2 separate regions of the Homo sapiens genome follow, and region 1 is linked to region 2. The links are contacts of gene promoters, found by promoter capture Hi-C in human tissues and cell types (Jung and others, 2019). All regions are on one chromosome and are shown on one strand. The core of a region is centred on a gene start or on the middle of the fragment in contact, and the rest is flanking DNA. Distances in the headings are between cores, read along the strand shown. Region 1 has its middle 5.4 kb from the start of ADIPOQ. Region 2 holds the start of MASP1 (MBL associated serine protease 1).

What was found. The method cuts DNA at HindIII sites, captures the fragments that hold promoters and counts their contacts. A contact is called where the count stands out against the background at its distance.
Region 1: a contact is called between a fragment that was not itself captured here and the fragment with the promoter of MASP1 in region 2, in 1 of the 25 tissues and cell types used here (mesendoderm cells).

The regions. Positions count from the first base shown.
Region 1 is chr3:186,834,971-186,839,663 of GRCh38, reverse strand. No RefSeq gene overlaps it. Among named protein-coding and RNA genes, the nearest start is that of ADIPOQ, 5.4 kb to the left of the region's middle. The HindIII fragment of the contact is 4,323 bases long and covers 1-3,664 here.
Region 2 is chr3:187,290,353-187,295,008 of GRCh38, reverse strand. It overlaps MASP1 (MBL associated serine protease 1), which reads left to right and starts at 3,272. Exons shown (of 11, transcript NM_139125.4): 1 at 3,272-3,381. The coding sequence starts at 3,377. It overlaps LOC101929130 (a long non-coding RNA gene), which reads right to left and starts at 3,737. Exons shown (of 2, transcript NR_135551.1): 1 at 3,473-3,737. The HindIII fragment of the contact is 8,732 bases long and covers 1-4,656 here.

The DNA.
Region 1 (4,693 bases), core at 254-2,753, 450 kb after region 2:
CACGCCCTGCAGCAATGTACGCCATCCCCAAACCCCTAGAAATGGCAAGAAAGGAGAACATTTCTTTATCTTTTTTTCTTTTTTTTTTTTTTTGAGATGGAGTTTCACTCTTGTTGCCCAGGCTGGAGTACTATGGCATGATCTCAGTTCACCGCAACCTCTGCCTCTCAGGTTCAAGCGATTATCCTGCCTTAGCCTCCCGAGTAGCTGGGATTATGGGCATGTGCCACCACGCCCCGCTAATTTTGTATTTTTAGTAGAGACAGGGTTTCCCCATGTTGGTCAGGCTGGTCTCGAACTCCCGACCTCAGGTGATCCACCCCCTCGGCCTCCCAAAGTGCTGGAATGACAGGCGTGAGCCACCGCGCCTGGCCAGGAGAACATTTCTTTATCTCTTCTGAAGGTATGGCTACGGCTGTACTTCTGAAGTATCTCAGATGATAATTTAAGTATCTGGTTTGCTACTGCATGATTTGGACTGTCACCTCCTGCCACCGACCAGAAGGCCATCATGATTCAAGCGCAGTCAATGCAGGTAGGCAACCCTGAATTCATACTTTTTAAAGCCTGTGTCCTTGGACTACCCCCAATACTAAAAAATTGTACTAGTCAAGGTACAATAATTTTAGAAAGGCTGGAGAAGCAAAGGGAGATGATATTGCCTAAAGACCAGGAATCGGTGACTGCTCCTGGACCATAGCCTATGAGCCTGCGCTTACTGCATGTCTTGCTAGCTGCTCCACCATTGCCACTGAACAGGAGCCACTGTCACCGCCACTGCCAAGGGCGCTCACTGAAACACAACAGCTCCTCCCTTCTTCCCCACTTCAGTCTTTTCACGGTTGTCTCCCATGTGCACAAGCTAACTGGTACCCATCTGGCAAAGGAATGTAGGATGTGTCATTTCAGGCATCAAGCTCCAGGAATACAAAAGGGATTATGGAGAGGTGAATGGAGGGCTAAGTACTAACAGACATGATCTGGCATAGGTCACAATGTCAAAAAAGAAAAAGTGACACCCAAGGTAACAAAGCTAATAGAAAAAAGGGTGAAGCTTAAGAATAACTATAATTATTATATCAGAAAGATGTCATAGGAATGAGCATACATGAAAATAATTAACGTCTAGTCTGCCCACAGTAGGAAGTGAAAATAAATTTCTGTCTTTTTGTCACTAAGTTCATGGTGATTTGCTATGGCAATCTTAGGAAACCAATACAAGGATCTAGGGCCAGTGAAGAGTTCTTACATATGACAACAAAAGCACAATCCACTAAAGAAAAAAATGAAAAGTGAGATTTCAACAAAACTAAAACTTTTGCTCTGTGAAACATCCTGTTAAGAGGAGGAAAAGGCAATATATGAATTAGAGGAATGTATTTGCAAACCATATTTGAGACAAGAGATTTGGATCTAGATTGTATAAAGAAATCTCAAAACTAAATGGTAAAAAAAAATTCAATTAGAAAATGGACAAAGGACATGAACAATTATTTCACCAAGTAGGAAACACAAATGACAAACAAGCACATGCAAAGATGTTCAGCATTATTAACCATTACGGAAACGCAAATTAAAATCACCATGAGATATCACTACATGCCTACTAGAATGGCTAAAATTAAAAACAGGAATACTATAATGGTACATACATGTAGATGCATACAATTGTCAAAACCCACAGAATGTACAACACTAGGCCAGGCACAGTGGCTTATGCCTATAATTACAGCACTTTGGGAGGCTGAGGCAGGCAGATCAGCTGAGGTCAGGAGTTGGAGACCAGCCCGGCCAACATGGTGAAACCCCATCTCTACTAAAAATACAAAATTGGCCAGGTGTGGTGGCACGCACTTGTAATCCCAGCTACTTGGGAGGCTGAGGCAGGAGAATCACTTGAACCCAGGAGGCAAAGGTTGTAGTGAGCCGAGATTGTGCCATTGCGCTTGGCCTGGGCAAAAAAGAGAGAAACTCCATCTCATTAAAAAAAAAAGAGAGAGAGAGAGAGAATGTACAACAGTAAGTTAATCCTAATACAAACTATGGACTTTAGATGATTAAAAAGAACAAAAAGATGTGGAGAATAGAGAACACAAACTATTTTGAATTAAAAATAGTGAGAATGGCCAGGCACAGTGGTGCACGCCTGTAACCCCAGCACTTTGGGAGGCAGAGGCAGGTGGATCGCTTGAGGTCAGGAGTTTGAGACCAGCCTGGGCAACATGGCGGAACTCCACCTCTACTAAGAATACAAAAAAAATTACCCATGAGTGGTAGCACTCACCTGTAGCCCCAGCTACTCAGGTTGCTGAGATGTGAGGATCGCTTAAGCCTGGGAGGCAGGGGTTGCAGTGAGCCGAGATAGTGCCACTACACTCCAGCCTAGGCAACTGAGCAAGACCCTGCCTCAAAAAAAAAAAAAAAAAAAAAAAAAAAAAAAAAAAAAAAAAAGTGAAAATACTAAATTTGGGAAAGAATGCGTAAAAATAGATTACTCATACTTTGCTGGTGGGAATGGAAAATAATGCAGCCACTCTGAAAAGTAGTTTGGCAGTTTCTTTAAAGATTAAATAGCAGTAACACTTCTGGGCATTTATCCCAAAGAACTAAAAACTATGTCCATATAGCCAGGCTCGGTGGCACATGCCTGTAATCCCATCACTTTGGGAGGCCATGGCGGGCAAATCACCTGAGGCCGGGAGTTCGAGACCAGCCTGGCCAACATGGTGAAACTCTGTCTCTACTAAAAATAGAAAAACTACCCAGGTGTGGTGGTGCATGCCTGTAATCCCAGCTACTTGGGAGGCTGAGGCAGGAGAATTGCTTGAACCTGGGAGGCGGAGGTTGCAGTGAGCCGAGATCACGCCACTGCACTCCAGCCTGGGCGACAGAGTGAAACTCCATCTCAAAAAAAAAAAAAAAAAAAAAAAAAACTATGTCCGTACAAAAACCCGACATAAAAATCTGAACATCCCTGTACATATATGTCTTTGCTCATTTGTAAGTAAATATTTAGGATAAATTTCTAGAAGTGGAATTGCAGGGTAAAGAGATATGCACATCTTAAATTGTACTTATTGTAAACTGAATCTCAAGAATCCAGTATTGATTTATATTTCTCCCAATGTAGGATGAGAGTGCCCATTTCTCTATATCCTCAACAATACTCAATTCTGTCAAATTTAAATATCTGGTATTCTAATAGATTGTGTTAAAAGTGCCTTATTTTTATTTGTATTTCTTCTATTATATGTGATTAAATGTATCATATATTTATTGATTATTTGTATTTTTTCCTGGAATTGTGTGTTTCTTCCCTTGTCCATTTTCCTTATTGAATTATTCTTATTAATTTTGAAAATCTTTTTATTAACACATAATGTACATATTTTTGGGATACATGTAATAATTTGACACATTCATATAATGTGTAAAGATCTAAGGAGGTCGGGTACAGTGACTAACGCTTGTCATCCCAGCACTTTGGGAGGCCGAGGTGGGTGTATCACCTGAGATCAGGAGTTCAAGACCAGTCTGACCAACATGGTGAAACCCCATCTCTGCTAAAAATACAAAAATTGGCCAGGCATGGCTGTGGGCCCCTGTAATCCCAGCTACTTGGGAGGCTGAGACAGGAGAATCACTGGAACCCAGGAGGCGGAGGTTGCAGTGAGCCAAGATTGCGCCATTGCACTTCAGCCTGGGTGACAGAATGAGACTCTGTCTGGAAAAAAAAAAAGTAATTAGGGTATTCATCACCGGCAATATTTATCTTTTTTAATGCTAGGAACATTTGAATTGTTCTCTTCTAGCTATTTTGACAGGTACAATAGATTATCTTGAACTATAGTCACCCTACTGATCTATCAAACACTTAGGTCTTATGCTTCTACCTAACTCTATATTTGTACCCATTTCAACCTCTCATTGAATTATTCTTATTAATTTTTAAAAGCTCATTGTATACCAAAGAAATTAATTCTTTGTTATATGTTTTGAAAATTTATCTATCTTTTCACTTTAAAAAATGTTTCATATAAAAATTTTGGCTTGCTATGCAGCCTAACTTATTAACAGTTTACTTTTTGTCTTCTGGGTCTCATGTTTGGTCTGAAAAGACTCCTCCCATTCCAAGGGGTTTTTTTGTTTTTGTTTTTTTCAACTTTTATTTTAGATTCAGGGGTGGTACATGTGCAGGTTTGTTACAAGGGTATATTGCATGATGCTGAAATTTGCATACGATTGAACCCATCACTCAAGTACTGAGCATAGTACCCAATAGGTAGTTTTTCAATCCCTGTCCCCCTCCCTTCTCTTGTAGTCTCCAGTGTCTATTGTTTCCATTTCATGTCCATGTGTACTCACTTGGCTCCCACTTATAAATGAGAACATGTGGCATTTGCTTTTCTGTTTCTGCATTAGTTTACTTAGGATAATGGTCCCTAGCTGCATCCATGTTGCTGCAAAGGCCATGATTTCATTCTTTCTTCTGACTGTATAGTATTCCATGGTGTATATGTACCACATTTTCTTTATCCACTCCTCTGTTGATTAACACCTTGGTTGATTCCATGTATTTGCTATTGCGAATAATATTGCGATGAACATACAGGTGCATGTGTCTTTTTGATAGAACAATTTATTTTCCTTTGGATATATATCTAGTAATGGAATTGTTGGTTTGAATGATATA
Region 2 (4,656 bases), core at 2,023-4,522:
ATATTCTGTAGGAAGCCTGGATTTCAGCCCTTACCAACAAAAAGTCATTGCCCAAATTCTTTACGTTTTCTAACCCATTCATTGAATTCCAGAAGCTCTAGCTCAAAAGTTGCATAAAATAAATACTTTGGTAGAACATGTAAACCAAAACCTCTTCCAGTGGTAGGAATATTGCCGCATTTACCCTTAGTAGGCAGCTCTCTGATCCCTTTCCCGGACTACAGGACTATAGTGCGCGGGTGCTGAGCCCACCTCAGTCATTCTACGCTTTCATGATTCTAAATGATGTCAGTTCCTTGTATGCATTTTTTAATCGCTTTTGCCAAACTCAAAAAACTAGTTGAACCTTTTTAAATATTACTTTTTCTGAATATCTGTGATTAAATTCTTAGTATCAGTAATATTATGAGCACAGAAAAAGCCAATGTCAAGATTATTAGAGCTATTTTGGACTCCTTGACAATCTTTTAGGTCTAGCAAACTACCTAACCCCCTCCCAACGACATCATTTCATAGTCTTCATATCCACATGTTGATATCTATGATCTCAACTGAGTCCCACCCCCTGATTTCATAATTGAACACACTGATGCCCCACCCCTCCACCCCTCAACCCCCACCCCTGAGAAAGTAAGTGACTTACCCAAGGTCACATGCAAGCTGGCCTATAGTCACTGAGCCCAGTTCTGTTTCCAGCCTAATGTCCCTTCCATTCCTCCCACCCCTGATGACCCATGATCTCTTAGTGACACTTCAGGGAGATTCATCAAAAGCATCAGACAATATGTAGTGTAACCAAGTAGAAAACTGTCCTGAATCACATGCAGATCATTCCTGGGCCACGTAGTTCCTGTTTTTATGCAGATTTCCTCTGAGCCTTGGCTAACTCCCAGGGAAGCGCACATATCAGATCTGCTATATATTGGCAGAACTTTGGCTTAGAACACATCTCGAATGCTTTCCATTGAACATTGGCAGCCTTGAAGAAACATGGCTAGAAAATTATTCCAGGAGGCCTAATTGCTCTGTGACACTTTCCAAGGAGAAGCTGATGGCTTTCTCGCCCAAGCTCTTCCCTCTGTACCCAGAACAAATGACTGCAGTTCCCAGTATATGCCCTAAATTAGGAGAGGGCAAACTCCGTGGCAGCATGAATTGAGGGAATGTCTTTACTGGGCAGGGGCCCTCTTCCCAGCACAGTGTGCATTTTGCCAAGCTCTTTCTCCTTCAGTTTTAAAACCCTTGTGTATTCCAAGAGAAATGTCGTCCATGTGTTTCTGATTCATTTACACGTAAATCATTAAAATGTTGTTTTGTGAGAGTTATTTAATGTGTGCGGAGCCTGTGAGTCTTCTTAACGGGAATGTTAAAAGCTTTTTTTCCTGTGCTGACTGAGACAGAACACATTTTGCTAAAACAGTGCCTGAGTTCAAACATATCCTCCCATCTCATATACTTGTACCTGCTTTATCAACCACAGCCTCTTGATAATGCCAAGCTTGGCAAGGCTGGCATTCAAAAGTGTGAAAATTAGAGAAACTGGAGAGAAAATGGAGTAAGAAGTACAGTGAGAGTCAAGCCACTGTTCCCCAGAACGTGCCAAAGGAACGTTATCTGAGGGTAGACAGTGCATGTGTCTGCCGCTTTGGTGAGTGTGGCTGGCAGCCCTCTCTCTGGTACTCCCCTGGACACTTCTACAAGCACAGTCTTATTTAAGCCTCATAGTAACTCCCATTTTCCAAATGAAGACACAGAATCAGATACCTTAAGTATTGTGCCCAAAGTACACAGCTGTCTTGGGTAGAAAGGAAAGATTACAGCTAAACTCTGAGTCTAATCTTCTTTTCAAAATGACTCAGATTGAGTTTCTCTATGAATGCCGTCTGTGTGTGTGCATTTGAAATTCCATATGCATTATAAAATGTTAATGAGTAGCAGTGTAATACAGTGGCTAACACTTCAAATTCTGCCTCTATTACTTTCTAGCTGTGTGAACTTGGGAAAGTTACTTAACCTCTCTGGGCAATTTCCTCTGAAAAATGAGAATATTGCCAGCCATGTATACAACATATAAAGATGACTGAAAAGAATTCATATATTAAGTGCTTAGAGCAGTGCCTGACACGTAGCACTCAATAGCTGTTAGCTTCTAGTGCTAGTGGCAGTGGGGAGTCATAAATAACTGGATGATCTTGGCAAGTGGCATATTCTCTCTGAGCCTTAGTGTCCTCACTTGTAAAATGAGTATAACAGCAGCACTTTCACCAGTTTGCAAAAGTAACTTGAGATGATGTTAATGACTAGTACTGTGTCTAACACAGAAAAGGTGCACAGTCAAACTTAACTTTTACACCCAGATACACCTCTCCCTATTCAGTGTTGGTTGTTGTTGTTGTGGAGGGGGTAATTTTCTTATTATTCAGCTCATCTTAGATCTAGTGTTGATTTCTCCGGAAGCCATGGGTATAGACATATATACAGGCCCAGGTCTTTCTACACCCCTGGGGAGGTGAGATTTCTTGCTGCGATGGGCCCTTTCTGGGCTGGAGTAGAGCCGCACACACTCCGAGCAAGTAAACAGTGCCACAGGTATTGCTCATGGGGAGGAACAACCAGCCAACTTCAGGACTTGGTGCTTCCCCAGTTCCGGGCCCGTGGCTCTGTTCACAGGAAAACCTGTCGTTGTGTGTGACTCTGATCACGAGAAAACCTGTAGTTATTTGGGGCTCTGCTCACAAGGAAACCTGTAGTTATTTGCAGACAGACGCTCTGGGATTTAGACCTTTTTTTTTTCTTCTAGTGTAGGTGCTAGAATTGCCTTCTTAGTTGGTTGTTTCTATTTAATTGCTTTTCTTTCATGGGTGTCCTGAAGAAAAGCAGAAAATTATAGTCATCTGGCAAAAAAGACTAAAGAGAAATTAGACTTTGTCCCCTTTCACTCTCTCTCTCTCTCTCTCTCTACACACACACACACACACACACACACACACACAGAGTGATACAAATACCTGCTTGAGCCCCTCAGTTATTTTCTCTCAAGGGCTGAAGTCAGCCACACAGGATAAAGGAGGGAAGGGAAGGAGCAGATCTTTTCGGTAGGAAGACAGATTTTGTTGTCAGGTTCCTGGGAGTGCAAGAGCAAGTCAAAGGAGAGAGAGAGGAGAGAGGAAAAGCCAGAGGGAGAGAGGGGGAGAGGGGATCTGTTGCAGGCAGGGGAAGGCGTGACCTGAATGGAGAATGCCAGCCAATTCCAGAGACACACAGGGACCTCAGAACAAAGATAAGGCATCACGGACACCACACCGGGCACGAGCTCACAGGCAAGTCAAGCTGGGAGGACCAAGGCCGGGCAGCCGGGAGCACCCAAGGCAGGAAAATGAGGTACGTGCCAGGGGAGGAGAGGGCACGGTTCCCTTTTGGGGACCAGTGTCAAATAGCAGGGAAGGTCTGACCTTGTCACTGACAGACTCACCTGCGTGTCCTGCATGTGGTAGTGAGGGGCTTTCTCATCAATTCTTAGGGCTCTGAGAAGGGAGCTGTGGGTGGGCTGGGTGCCTTCCCCAGGACTCCAGGAGACATAAAACTTGAAACGGGAGACTTCGTGCAAATCCTGCTCCGGACGCTGCTGAAGCTCAGATTTCTCCCACTGCCTGCACAGGGTGCTGCCTGCTGGCGAATGTGACTCTCCTCCTGTTCACCCACAAGGCTGATTTTTCCGTGTTCCTCCTCTGGAAAGAGCATTGCTTTCTCTCTTCCAGCACTTTGTGAGTTAGATATGTGTTTGTGTGTTCATTCCTTCTGACCAGAAAAGAAACCAGCTTCCCATAGCTTGGCTCTGTGGTTTCTTCAACCTTTACAAGTTTGCCAGTTAAACCTCAATTTAGAAAACTAAAAATCTGTCCCCATTTTACAGTTCCCTATAAATTTTCTGCATTTCTCATTGAAATCAGAGGCAGCTGGTGGCATGAATCAGGCTATGAAGTACACCAAATGGCTCTTAAAGAGATATCATACTTAAAAAAAAAAAAAGGATTTTAGAGTTCTGAAATCAAGAACTTCAAATTCTAATTGGTTTTAAACTCTTTAACCTTTCTTATTCCTCATTATACTTGACACTCCTTACCAGACCTTTCATACAAGTTCTATCCTGCAAGTCTGAAAACCCAACCACCCTAGTTATTTTTATTAGTTAAGTGTTAATGCTGTTACACACACACACACACACACACACACACACAATGCTCTGCAGATGTGTAAGTCCCTAAACACATCTTTTACTATTAATTTTCTTTTCACTTGGGAAAGTGTTTTTATTTGTTTCTCTTCTGCAAAGTAACCTAGCAACTTTTCTGGACCTGAGACCAATGAGAGGCTTCAGACTATGTTAACTCTTTGAACTCCGATTACCTGTGGTTCAGAGAGATAACCAGGTCCTTAAAAAGTGAGTGCAATAATTCTGTTCTTCTTAAAGCCATAGTAATTTTAAACCTGCCATTAAACATCATTTTTCTTTCTCCAAAAAAAAGTGATTTATGTCAATCTACATTGAATGATAATCTCATTTATCTGTCAATGATCTGGTCTGAATCCCACCCTACCATTCAGTGCCCCAGCCCATATCAAACTACTTGGCTGAGTAACAATTCTGTATCTTTG